Regions from separate parts of the Homo sapiens genome. Here all the other regions are linked to region 2. The links are contacts of gene promoters, found by promoter capture Hi-C in human tissues and cell types (Jung and others, 2019). All regions are on one chromosome and are shown on one strand. The core of a region is centred on a gene start or on the middle of the fragment in contact, and the rest is flanking DNA. Distances in the headings are between cores, read along the strand shown. Region 1 overlaps CCDC60 (coiled-coil domain containing 60). Region 2 holds the start of TMEM233 (transmembrane protein 233). Region 3 overlaps PRKAB1-AS1 (PRKAB1, TMEM233 and CCDC60 antisense RNA 1).

Region 1 (4,208 bases), core at 1,073-3,572, 56 kb after region 2:
CAGGAAGTCCCAGCTATCTGCATTTTTCTTTCTTTTCTACTCCTTAATATCTTTTCAAACAGTCATTTGTTGTTAAACGTTTTTGGTTTGTAAATCCGTTTCAGAATTGATGACAGCTATGGGCTTAATTTCCTGGAAAGGGTTTAAGACACACAAAAGGAAGAGTTTCATGTAGACCCCCACATCCAGATTATTAGAAATTCTGTGATGTTGGGTGGCTAGCAAGACGGCTGAATAGGAACAGCTCCAGTCTGCAGCTCCCAGTGAGATCAACACAGAAGGTGGGTGATTTCTGCATTTCCAGCTGAGGTACCTGGCTCATCTCATTGGGACTGGTTAGACAGTGGGTGCAGCACAGAGGGCAAGCTGAAGCAGGGTGGGGTGTTGCCTCACCCAGGAAGCACAAGGGGTCAGATAATTCTCTCCCCTAGCCAAGGGAAGCTGTGAGGGACTGTGCTGTGAGGAACAGTGCATTCTGGCCCAGATACTACGCTTTTCCCATGGTCTCCACAACCCGCAGACCAGGAGATTCCCTTGGGTGCCTACACAACCAGGACCCTGGGTTTTAAGCACAAAACTGGGTGGCCATTTGGGCAGACACCAAGCTAGCTGCAGGAGTTTTTTTCTTATACCCCTGTGGCACCTGGAATGCCAGTGAGAGACAACTGCCACTCCCCTGGAAAGGGGGCTGAAGCCAGGGAGCCAAGTGGTCTAGCTCACTGGATCCCACTTCCACGGAGCCCAGCAAGCTAAGATCCACTGGCTTGAAATTCCTGCCGCCAGCACAGCAGTCTGAAGTCGACGTGGGTTGTTGGAGTTTGGTGGGGGGAGGGACGTCCGCCATTATGGAGGTTTGGGTAGGCAGTTTTCCCCTCACAGTGTAAACAAAGCCACCAGAAAGTTCAAACTGGGCAGAGCCCACAGCAAAGCCACTGTAGCCAAACTGCCTCTCTAGATTCCTCCTTTCTGGGCAGGGCATCTCTGAAAGAAAGGCAGCAGCCCCAGTCAGGGACTTATAGATAAAACTCCCATCTCCCTGGGACAGAGCACCTGGGAGAAGGGGCGGTTGTGGGTGCAGCTTCAGCAGACTTAAACATTCCTGCCTGCCGGCTCTGAAGAGAGCAGTGGATCTCCCAGCACAGCGCTCAAGCTCTGCTAAAGGACAGACTGCCTCAAGTGGGTCCCTGACCGCCATGTCTCCTGACTGGGAGACACCTCCCAGGAGGGGTTGACAGACACCTCATATGGGAGAGCTCTGGCTGGCATCAGGCTGGTGCCCCTCTGAGATGAAGCTTCCAGAGGAAGGAACAGGCAGCAATCTTTGCTGTTCTGCAGCCTCCACTGGTGATACCCAGGAAAACAGGGTCTGGAGTGGACCTCCAGCAAACTCCAGCAGACCTGAAGCAGAGGGGGCTGACTGTTAGAAGGAAAACTAACAAACAGAAAGGAATAGCATCAACATCAACAAAAAGCACATCCACACAAAAACCCCATGTGATGGTCACCAACATCAGAGACCAAAAGTAGATAAATCCATGAAGATGAGGAAAAACCAGCACAAAAAGGCTGAAAATTCCCAAAACCAGAACGCTTCTTCTCCTCCAAAGGATCACAGTTCCTCACCAGCAAGGGAACAAAACTGGGCAGAGAATGAGTTTGACAAATTGACAGAAGTAGGCTTCAGAAGATGGATGATAACAAACTCCTCTGAGCTAAAGGAGCATGTTCTAACCCAATGCAAGGAAGCCAAGAACCTCTAAAAAAGGTTAGAGGAATTGCTAACTAGAATAACCAGTTTAGGAGTCTGTTCCAAGATGGCCGAATAGGAACAGCTCCAGTCTGCAGCTCCCAGCATGATCGATGCAGAAGACAGGTGATTTCTGCATTTCCAACTGAGGTACCTGGTTCATCTCATTGGGACTGGTTGGAAAGTGGGTGCAGCCCATGGAGGGCAAGCCGAAACAGGGCAGGGTATCGCCTCACCCAGGAAGTGCAAGGGGTTGGGGGTTTTCCCTTTCCTAGCCAAGGGAAGCCGGGACAGACTGTACCTGGAAAATCAGGACACTTCTGCCCAAATACTGTGCTTTTCCAATGGTCTTAGGAAATGGCACACCAGGAAATTATATGCGCCTGGCTCGGCAGGTCCCATGCCCATGGAGCATTGCTCACTGCTAGTGCAGCAGTCTGAGATCAACCTGTGAGGCAGCAGCCTGGCAGGGGGAGGGGCATCCGCCATTGCTGAGGCTTGAGTAGGTAAACAAAGTGGCCGTGGAAGCTCGAACTGGGTGGAGTCCACCACAGCTCAGCAAGGCCTGTTGCCTCTGTAGATTCCACCTCTGGGGGCAGGGCATAGCTGAACAAAAGGCAGCAGATACTTCTGCAGACTTAAACGTCCCTGTCTGACAGCTCTGAAGAGAGTACTGGTTCTCCCAGCATGATGTTTGAGCTCTGAGAACAGACAGACTGCCTCCTCAAGTGGGTCCCTGACCCCCATGTAGCTTCACTGGGAGACACCTCCCAGTAGGGGCCAACTGACACCTCATACAGGCGGGCGCCCCTTTGGGACGAAGCTTCCAGAGGAAGGATCTAGCAGCAATATTTGCTGTTCTACAGCCTCCGCTGGTGATACCCAGGCAAACAGGGTCTGGAGTGGACCTCCAGCAAACTCCAACAGACCTGCAGCTGAGAGACCTGACTGTGAGACGGAAAACTAACAAACAGAAAGGAATAGCATCAACATCAACAAAAAGGACATCCACACCAAAACCCCATCTGTAGGTCACCACCAACAAAGACCAAAGGTAGATAAAACCACAAAGGTGGGGAGAAACCAGAGCAGAAAAGCTGAAAATTCTAAAAACTGGAGCACCTCTTCTCCTCCAAAGGATCGCAACTCCTTGCCAGCAATGGAACAAAGCGGGATGGAGAATGACTTTGACGAGCTGACAGAAGTAGGCTTCAGAAGGTCGGTAATAACAAACTTCTCCAAGCTAAAGGAGGATGTTTGAACCCATTGCAAGGAAGCTAAAAACCTTGAAAAAAGATTAGACGAATGGCGAACTAGAATAAACAGTGAAGAGAAGACCTTAAATGACCTGATGGAGCTGAAAACCAAGGCACAAGAACTACGTGAAGAATTCACAAGCTTCAGTAGCCGATTCAATCTAGTGGAAGAAAGGGTATCAGTGGTTGAAGATCAAATTAATGAAATAAAGTGAGAAGAGAAGTTTAGAGAAAAGAGTAAAAAGAAATGAACAAAGCCTCCAAGACATATGGGACTATGTGAAAAGACCAAAACTATGTTTGATTGGTGTACCTGAAAGTGATGGGGAGAATGGAACCAAGTTGGAAAATATTCTGCAGGATATTATCCAGGAGAACTTCCCCAACCGAGCAAGGCAGGCCAACATTCAAATTCACAAAATACAGAGAACACCACAAAGATACTCCTTGAGAAGAGCAAGCCCAAGACACATAATTGTCAGATTTACCAAGGTTGAAATGAAGGAAAAAATGTTAAGGGCAGTCAGAAAGTTCAGGTTACCCACAAAGGAAGCCCATCAGACTAACAGTGGATCTCTCAGCAGAAACTCTACAAGCCAGAAGAGAGTAAGGGCCAATATTCAGCATTCTTAAAGAAAAGGATTTTCAACCCAGAATTTCATATCCAGCCAAACTAAGCTTCATAAGTGAAGGAGAAATAAAATCCTTTACAGACAAGCAAATGGTGAGAGATTTTTGTCACCACCAGGCCTGCCTTACAACAGTGCCTGAAGGAAGCACTAAACATAAAAAGGAACAACCGGTACCAGCCACTGCAAAAACATGCCAAATTGTAAAGACCATCGATGCTAGGAAGAAACTGCATCAGCTAATGGGCAAAATAACCAGCTAACATCATAATGACGGGATCAAATTCACACATAGCAATATTAACCTTAAACGTAAATGGGCTAAATACCCCAATTAAAAGACACAGACTGGCAAATTGGATGAAGAGTCAAGATCCATCACTATGCTGTATTCAGTAGACCCATCTCACGTGCAGAGACACACATAGGCTCAAAATAAAGGGATGGAGGAAGATGTACCAAGCAAATGGAAAGCAAAAAATGGAGGGGTTGCAATTCTAGTCTCTGATAAAACAGACTTCAAATCAACAAAGATCAAAAGAGACAAAGAAGGCCATTACATAATGGTAAAGGGAT
Region 2 (3,857 bases), core at 220-2,719:
TGCAAGGGTTGTCCCGGGACAGTGCCGGTACGAACCTCACCCCGCCGCCACCCCCGGGCCAGCTGCTGCAGTCAATAAGGCGAGGGCCTAGCAGGCGCTCGTCGCCCTCCTGGTGGGGTTCGCTCGGGTGTTCCTACCAGGGTTGAAGAGGGCTAGGGAGCTGAGCTCCGGAAGGGCGGACTAGAGGCCCCAGCGGCCACTCCTAGAGAGGCGGGCAGCTCGGGAGGTCTGAGCGCAGAGGGCGGGCGGAGCCGCACGTTGCGTGGAATCCCCTAGTTCATTCCCGGGAGAGCCCCGGGCGCAGGACAGAGCGGTGGAGGGGCGCCTGGGAGCTCTGGGGGACACCAAGAGAAGAGAGGTTAGGGCCAGTGCGCAGCAAACGGGGAGGAACTACGACGCGCTGGGTAGAAAGAGTAAGAGAGGCGCACCCACTTTGCTGGTGAGGGGGGCACACGGGGAGCCTAAGAAAGGCCTAAAGAGGTAGTGGGTGTGAGCCAGCCTCGGGCGCGTTAAAAAGGGGGCGCCGGAGGGAGGCAAGGAGAGGAAGTTGGGTGTAGGAAGAAGCGAGAGGAAACTGTTGCCTGGACAGAGCGTGCCGTGCCAAAGCGCGGAAACGGGATCAAGGAGGGGGCATCAGGAATCGCCTGGGGACCCCCCGGAGAGTGGCGGAAGCGGTGCCCTTGGGCGCAGCAAAGAGAGAAGGGAGCACAGGCTGAGATAGAGACAGTCCTGGGCGCTGGAGAGCAGGAGCCCCCGGAGCGGCAGGGAAAGGAACGTAGAGCCTGCATGCTCGGGGTATGAGCTTACTGCGCTCGCTAGGGTGGCGCGCACTGGGGCTCTAGAAAAGAGGGTTGAGAAGCCCCGGGCAAGTGCCTAGGAAGGTCAGAGGAGTCAGCAAAGTCCACGGAAGAACTTCCCCGGGTTGGAGAGGAAACGCACCCTGGGAGCTGGAAAGAAGAGGAAAGCTAGCCTGGGGGAAGCTTGATCAGGGCTCTGAGTACCACGAGGAGTGCAGAGGAGGTGCTGATGATTGCGGGGAGAGCTCTGAGAGCCCGAGAAAGGTGAGGAGGAGGTGCGAGGACAAAGAACACCTAGCGCGGGCCGGGCCGTGAGGAAGGGAGCCGCAGAGAGCGCGCGGACTCCCCTGCAGGGGCTCAAAGCCGCCCGGGTCTCTCCTCCCAGGCTGCCTCTGGCCGTGATTCACTCACCATGATGGAAAAGACCAAAGCCACGATGTTGATGGGGTACGCAGGGCAAAAACACGAGACGATGGTGAGCCACAGGTAGTTCTTGGGCATGGGCACGTCCTCCTCGGTCTTGTCATCTTCAGTGTTGGCCTCGGGACTGCTGTCCAAAGCCCTCTTGAAGTCCGGGCTAGGGGCGTACTGAGACATGGGCGAGGCCGGCGGCGCCGGGAGGGCGGAGGAGCGCACGGTCTGTGTGGTCTGGGGCTCTGGCCGCCGGCTTGTGGCGAGGCTCTGAAAAGCCAGCGGCTCGGGGCTCAAGGGAGACGTGACCTCACCCCTTCTGCGTCCTCTGCCAGCACCCGCCCGGGCTCAGGGACCCTGGCCAAGAGCCTCCCCACAAGGAGGAAGGGAGGGAGAAAAGGAGTGAGGGGAGGCGGGGAGGACAGCGGGAGCGTCAGCCTGAGGAACAGGGAACAGGCAGATGAAGGCACCCCACTCCCTGAGATCGTCGGAGGGACGCACAGACTCACACTGAGAAGTCTGGAATAAAAGGAGGCTCAGGGAAGGAGGACGCAAAGGCCCATTAAGTTCCAAATTGGCCAGCCCGTGGGCTGAAGATGACCAGCTCATTTTTAAAAGCCACTTAATTCTAATACATTTAGATGGGACAGGACCAACCCTATCCAGTTGGCAACAGACTCACTACTTCCTCTTGACTTCAACGTTTTACCTTAACTGTCTGGTGCCTGGGCATTTGATTTGTCTCCTGTGCCTCAGACCTTGAACACTGAGCCCCAGGAATTTCTCCTCCCCCCGACCCCCTCCCCCAGGTGGGGTGGGAACCAGGTGCCCAGCTTTGGCCTCAAAGCTTTCCACATTCTACTTGGGGCTCAAGAGACTGGAGTCCAGTATAGTCAGTCAGTGGGCACTGCCCGGTCCATGCCCGTCCAGGTGCCCTCCCCAGTGTGGAAACAAGGAATTCTTCTTTCCACTTTTCCACCTGCAGGACCCCTGGGGAGAAATGCAGGTAGATCAGGCTGGCCTAGGCAACCTAGATGGATGAGTGGGCTGGGAAGAAGAACAAGGTATCCACTTTGGGGACTAGTGTGAGAAAAGCAATTGTATCAGTGTCTAAGCTATTCATGAGAGGGCCGTATGGACCAGAACTGAAGCTTGAATCCAGACAGAACTAGGAAATTGTCACTTCAGGAAAGCCCCTTCATCTTGCTAAGCCCCTATTTCTCCATCTGAAAAAGGGGAAATAATAGTCCCTGCCTCATAAAGTCGTAGTGACTCTTCTATGAGATGGTACATTATCCAGGTCAATCCATGTGCTCAATAAATATTAGCTATTATTAGCATACTATTTCTCCTTATATTCTGAAACATATAGTGCATTATACAGTATCCTAAACTTGATATCCCTTGCTAATATTTCACCAAAAATCCAGGTATTCTGAGCTGCAGGACCACAAAGAAATGAAAATAATTTGATCATGCAGTGTCAAAAGCAATTGCTCACATCATCATACTTGAAACTATTAATCATCTTCTTGGCTTTCTCAGAATATAAGCTGATTGCCTGGGAGATTCTCACTTATCTCATGAGCCATACTTATTTTGTTATCTGCCTCCCTCATTGGACTGCACACTCCCCGAGAGAAGGGGTCATCTGGCTCATCTTTGTGTCAGCATCTGGCACAGTTCCTGGTACAAGGGAGGTGCTTAGTATAGCTTGCTGGGTGAACACACAAAGATGAAATAGTACATTCTCCGCCATGCCTTCTTTCTCATTTTGATGGATTAATAAAATGGGAGTAACTAAAAGATTAGATTCATCTACTGAATTCTCAACCAAGTCTTTGCATTGGCTGTTCCCTCTGCCTCGGCTGTTTTTCCCTGGCTGTCACATGGCTCCTCCTTCTTTTTTTTTTTACTTTGAGTTGGAGTCTCACTCTGTCACCCAGGCTGGAGTGCAGTGGTGTGATCTCGGCTCACTGCAACCTCCACCTCCTGGGTTCAAGCAATTCTCTGCCTCAGCCTCCCGAGTAGCTGGGATTACAGGTGTCTGCCACCACGCCCAGCTAATTTTTGTATTTTTAGTAGACACAGGGTTTCACCATCTTGGCCAGGCTGGTCTTGAACTCCTGACCTCATGATCCACCCGCTTTGGCCTCCCAAAGTGCTGGGAGGCTCCTCCTTCTTATTCCTCAGGTGACAGGTCAAGTCACTTCCTCAAAGAGAGGTCTTCTTGTAGATTATCTAGTGTAGGTCTCCATCCTTATTTTATTCTTGCCAGTTTATTATTTTTTGTGTGTGTAGCGTGTCACAATTGTAATTTATTTCTTTACTTGTTCACTGTTTGTTCTATCTCTAGACTATAGCCTGTCCAACCTGTTCAGAACTATATTTCCAGCACTTAAGAATTGTCCTGGTGCATAGTAGGAATGCAAGAAATGTTTCTTGAATGAATTGACCAAAATTACCTGGATGTATTGAAAAAAATGATTTTCAGGTTTTGATCAAGACCTACTTGGATTAGAATTTCTCAGGTAGCACCCCAGAAATCTGTACTTTTTTTTTTTTTTTTTTTGAGATGGAGTCTCACTCTGTCACCCAGGCTGGAGTGCAGTGGTGCGATCTCGGCTCACTGCAAGCTCTGCCTCCCAG
Region 3 (4,223 bases), core at 665-3,164, 38 kb after region 2:
CTCTATCCAAGACAGAAGGGCCATTTTTTTTTTCATGACTTTAGTACCTCTTTGCTTAATGTCCTTGTAAGGCCCAGACATGCCTCCTTCATTGATGACAAGGAGTTCTCACCACCGTTAGCCAGTTCTCATTAAGGTGTTTCCACTATGGGGGTCTGAGACACAGATGGGCTTGTTCCATACTCTGAAAGGAGCCTCACTTCACTACATTCCCCTTTGGCTCCAGCTGATAGACACTCAGTACACAGTTCCAAGACTTAATGGCATTCTGCTTGTATGTTGCCAAACACTAAAACCTTGTTGTTGGAGTTAAGTGTTTTGGGAAATGGTCTGTAATATTTCACCAACCGAGACTTCAAAAAGTTGGAATTGCTGAATGAGCTGCCAGATCTGAACTTGATCTCCAATTGGCCCACCTGTGCTCACTGGAGAGGACGTGTTGAAACCTTTCCTGTGAGCTCTGTGAATTCATTTAAGAAATATTCCGTCCCTGCAGTGGCATTTAGTGGCACATAGTAGACTCTCAATTGTGGATTTTAAATATATTATGCATTTTAAAGACACTAAAAATATAATAACTTCAAATACTTAAATCATGGTTACACTGTGTCAGACACTCTTTCAAGCATCTACATATACTAATACAGTGGTTCATGAACTCTCCTGCACATTAGAATCACGTGGGTAATTTAAAATAGTCCCTATGCTTAGGCCACACCCTACACCAATGAAATCAGGCTCCCCTAATTTGAGTTTTAAACACTCCCCAGGTGACTCACATATGTAGTCAACTGTGAGAATCAGGGAATGAACTCATTTAATCTTCATAACACCTTATAAAACAGGTGCTGCTACTACTCATGTTGCATAAGTGAGGAAACTCAGGCACAAGAGACAGATTAAGTAAGTGACTTGCCCAAGGTCACACAGCTGACAGATGTCAGAGCCAAGTGTTGAACCAGGCTGTATGGTCCCAGAATTCATGCCTTTAATCACCAAAACCTGTAACCAGAGGCCCGCATATTCTTTTTATTTGAAAAAATTTATCTTAAAAGTATTTGTTTACACACACACACACACACACCACATGTGTTTACGTTATACAGATTAATTGTATAATGAAAATCTGTGGCCCCGTCAACCAAAGAACTAGGGCATTGCCAATAAGGCATACACCTGATGCTCTTTCCCAGTCCAGGGCCCCAGGTCCCCTCCACAGAGGTCATTGTTATCCTGAGTTTGGGAGTGTATCACTGCTTTGCATATATAAAGTCATACCTACACAGCATGTGTTTTACTCTTGCTTATTCTTGTTTTATAAAAATGAGATCATGCTATTATATGTAGTCTTCTGGTTTTAATTTTTTTCCTACTATTTCCCAAATTTTTTTTTTTAATTTTTATTTTAGGTTCAGGGGTACATGTGCAGGTTTGTTGTACATTAATAGGTAAACTTGTGTCTCGGGGGTTTGTGGTACAGGTTATTTCATCACCCAGGTATTAAGTACCCAATAGTTATTTTTTCTGCTCCTCTCCCTCCTCCCACCCTCCATCCTCAGGTAGGCTCCAGTGTCTGTGGTTCTCTTCTTTGTGTCTACGAGTTCTCGTCATTCAGCTCCCACTTATCAGTGAGAACATGCAGTATTTGGTTTTCTGTTTCTGTGTTAGTTTGCCAAGGATAATGGGCCTCCAGCTCCATCTATGTTCCTGCAAAAGACATAATCTCATTCTTTTTTATGACTGCATAGTATGCTGTGGTGTATATGTACCACATTTTCTTTATCCAATCTGTCATTGAGAAGTTTGCGTATTCTTATTCTTATTCTCTGTCCCCATCCCACTGTCTGGTTCAAACTCCCATGCTCTCATAATGTCTCCTGGACATTTCGAAGTCTCCTCATTGGTCTTCTTTCTTGAGTCTCAGGCTCTCTAACTCAGCTCTGTCCAATGGAATTATAATGCAAGCCACATATGTAATTTTAAATTTTCCACTGGCCACATTAAACAAGTAAAAAGCAGGATAAATTAATTTTAATACCATATTTTATTTAACCCAATATATTCCAAATATCCTTTTGACACATAATCAATATTAAACAATATTAACGAGATAGTCTACATTCCTTTTTTCATACTCAGTGTTCAAAGTCCCGTGTGTATTTTATACTTATAGTTGTTGAAAAATCACAAAATCCATGCATTTAGATAAAGAGACTTTATTTTTTTAAAAAGGGTTACAGTCTACAAGGTGGCCATCCCACAGGCTGGGAACCATACTTCTGGCCAAAGTCATTAGCAGGCATTTTGAAGGAGGTGGGGTTGGTTTTTTTTTTTTTTTTTTTTTTTTTTTTGAGATGGAGTCTCGCTTTGTTGCCCAGGCTGAAGTGCAGTGGCGTGATCTCGGCTCACTGCAAGCTTCACCTCCCGGGTTCATGCCATTCTCCTGCCTCAGCCTCCCTAATAGCTGGGACTACAGGTGCCCGCCACCACGCCTGGCTAATTTTTGTATTTTTAGTAGAGACGGGGTTTCACCTTGTTGGCCAGGATAGCCTCGATCTCCTGACCTCATGATCTGCCCACCTTGGCCTCCCAAAGTGCTGGGATTACAGGCGTGAGCCACTGGGCCTGGCCAGGAGGAGGAGGGGTTGGACAGGAATTTTAGCTCACTGGGGTGGCCAAGTATGCGTATTCAACAGGTTACGAGAGGAGTTATGAATATTTATGAAGGTAGTTATGACACGTGTATTGAACAAATATGCATGTGACATGTGACATATCACCCCACCTTGGGGTGGGGCTTGATATTTAAATGTATTATAATTAGATCCTATATGTCAAAAGGTCTTTTTAGAACGAAGGCACTCATGTGCACAGCCTCTGTAAACTGGCCAGAATCAGTCCATGGTCAGTGGTCTTTTTTATTAGGAGAAAGTTATTGAAATCAATTTCTTGCCTAATCAAAGCTGTAGTTATGGCTGGTGGAAAGGGAACGGTGCGGGGGAGGATCAGTTAGTCAGTGTCTGGTGGTTGGTTCGTTGCAGTTGTTTTAACACTGCTTATCTCAAGGCCAGCACTTGTTTAGCTGCTAGAGAAAAAGAAAAACCTTGTGGCAGTTAGAATATAGTTTATTCTTTAAGTGAAGGAGTGTGTGACTTAACCCTTTCCTGGCATGGCCTTAGGCCCTGTTTATAACTTGGTATCTTATTACTACGAAGAGTTCATTTTGTCGGTCTTGTGATCTCTATTTTAACATTAACGCTGGTCAGTTGTCTGTAAACTACACAAAAGAGGGGGTATAACGAGGTGTGTTGGACCTCCGGTTCTTGTCATTGTCGTGAACTCAGTTTTTAAGGTTTTTCTGGGGGTCTCTTTGGCCAAGAGGGGGTCTGTTCTGTCAGTGGGGCAGGGGGCTTAAGATTTTATTTTTAGTTACATAGCACATCTCAATTTGGAATGGCCATGTGTCCAGTGGTCAGTAGCCACACGTGGCTAATGACCCTCATATTAGATGGTGCAGCTCTAACCCATTCTCCACCCTGCAGACAGACCAAACTTTCTAAAATGGAAATGTCACCAGTTTTCTCAACAATTTAGAACATATTCCTGGCTTCCTATTACTCTCAAGACAAATTCCTCAAGGTTCTTTGTGATTTATTTCCAACTCACCCTTTTAGGTTATTTTTCTGTAACTTCACATAGGGACCTTCCAGCCCTATCAAACTTCATTTTTCTCCCCGAATACGTAATTGTTTTTCAGGTCACTGTGACTTTGCACAGGCGGTTTTCTCCACCTGAAAGGTCGTTCCTGTTCTCTTGTTCTTTCCACTTCTTCACCTACAACACTCCTCTTCCCCCCAGATGCCTTCTCGTTTATTTAAAAAATCTTTGAGGATTCATCTGGGATGGATTAGTCCAACCCTCCTGTGCATTCATATGGAACCTTGAATACAGCTTTTATCATATTTGTCGGTAGCTGCCTATGTGCTCACATCTCTCACAAGGCCAAGTGCTTCACCAGAGCAAGGATCATGGCTTGTCTCCCTTTCTGCTCCCAGTACCTTTCTCTCTCAGTGCCTGTCAAATATTCGGCACATAATATTAGACCCCATTCCTTCCATTCATTCGTATTACTTGCCTGGTCTTGGTTGAAATGTAGATTTGGGACCCTCATAATCTAGCTCTCTGATTTTACAGATGGGGAAACTGAAGCCCTAGAGGAAAAG

What was found. The method cuts DNA at HindIII sites, captures the fragments that hold promoters and counts their contacts. A contact is called where the count stands out against the background at its distance.
Region 1: a contact is called between a fragment that was not itself captured here and the fragment with the promoter of TMEM233 in region 2, in 2 of the 25 tissues and cell types used here (dorsolateral prefrontal cortex and spleen).
Region 3: a fragment that was not itself captured here is called in contact with the fragment with the promoter of TMEM233 in region 2 in 1 of the 25 tissues and cell types used here (spleen).

The regions. Positions count from the first base shown.
Region 1 is chr12:119,536,150-119,540,357 of GRCh38, reverse strand. The region is part of intron 13 of CCDC60 (coiled-coil domain containing 60); the gene reads right to left. The region is part of intron 2 of PRKAB1-AS1 (PRKAB1, TMEM233 and CCDC60 antisense RNA 1); the gene reads left to right. Among named protein-coding and RNA genes, the nearest start is that of TMEM233, 56 kb to the left of the region's middle. The HindIII fragment of the contact is 4,608 bases long and covers 19-4,208 here.
Region 2 is chr12:119,591,386-119,595,242 of GRCh38, reverse strand. It overlaps TMEM233 (transmembrane protein 233), which reads right to left and starts at 1,469. Exons shown (of 3, transcript NM_001136534.3): 1 at 1,209-1,469. The coding sequence starts at 1,394. All of the region lies in intron 1 of PRKAB1-AS1 (PRKAB1, TMEM233 and CCDC60 antisense RNA 1), which reads left to right. RefSeq lists an enhancer at 908-1,481. The HindIII fragment of the contact is 2,865 bases long and covers 1-2,207 here.
Region 3 is chr12:119,553,617-119,557,839 of GRCh38, reverse strand. It overlaps PRKAB1-AS1 (PRKAB1, TMEM233 and CCDC60 antisense RNA 1), which reads left to right. Exons shown (of 3, transcript NR_188494.1): 2 at 4,195-4,223. Among named protein-coding and RNA genes, the nearest start is that of TMEM233, 38 kb to the left of the region's middle. The HindIII fragment of the contact is 3,709 bases long and covers 60-3,768 here.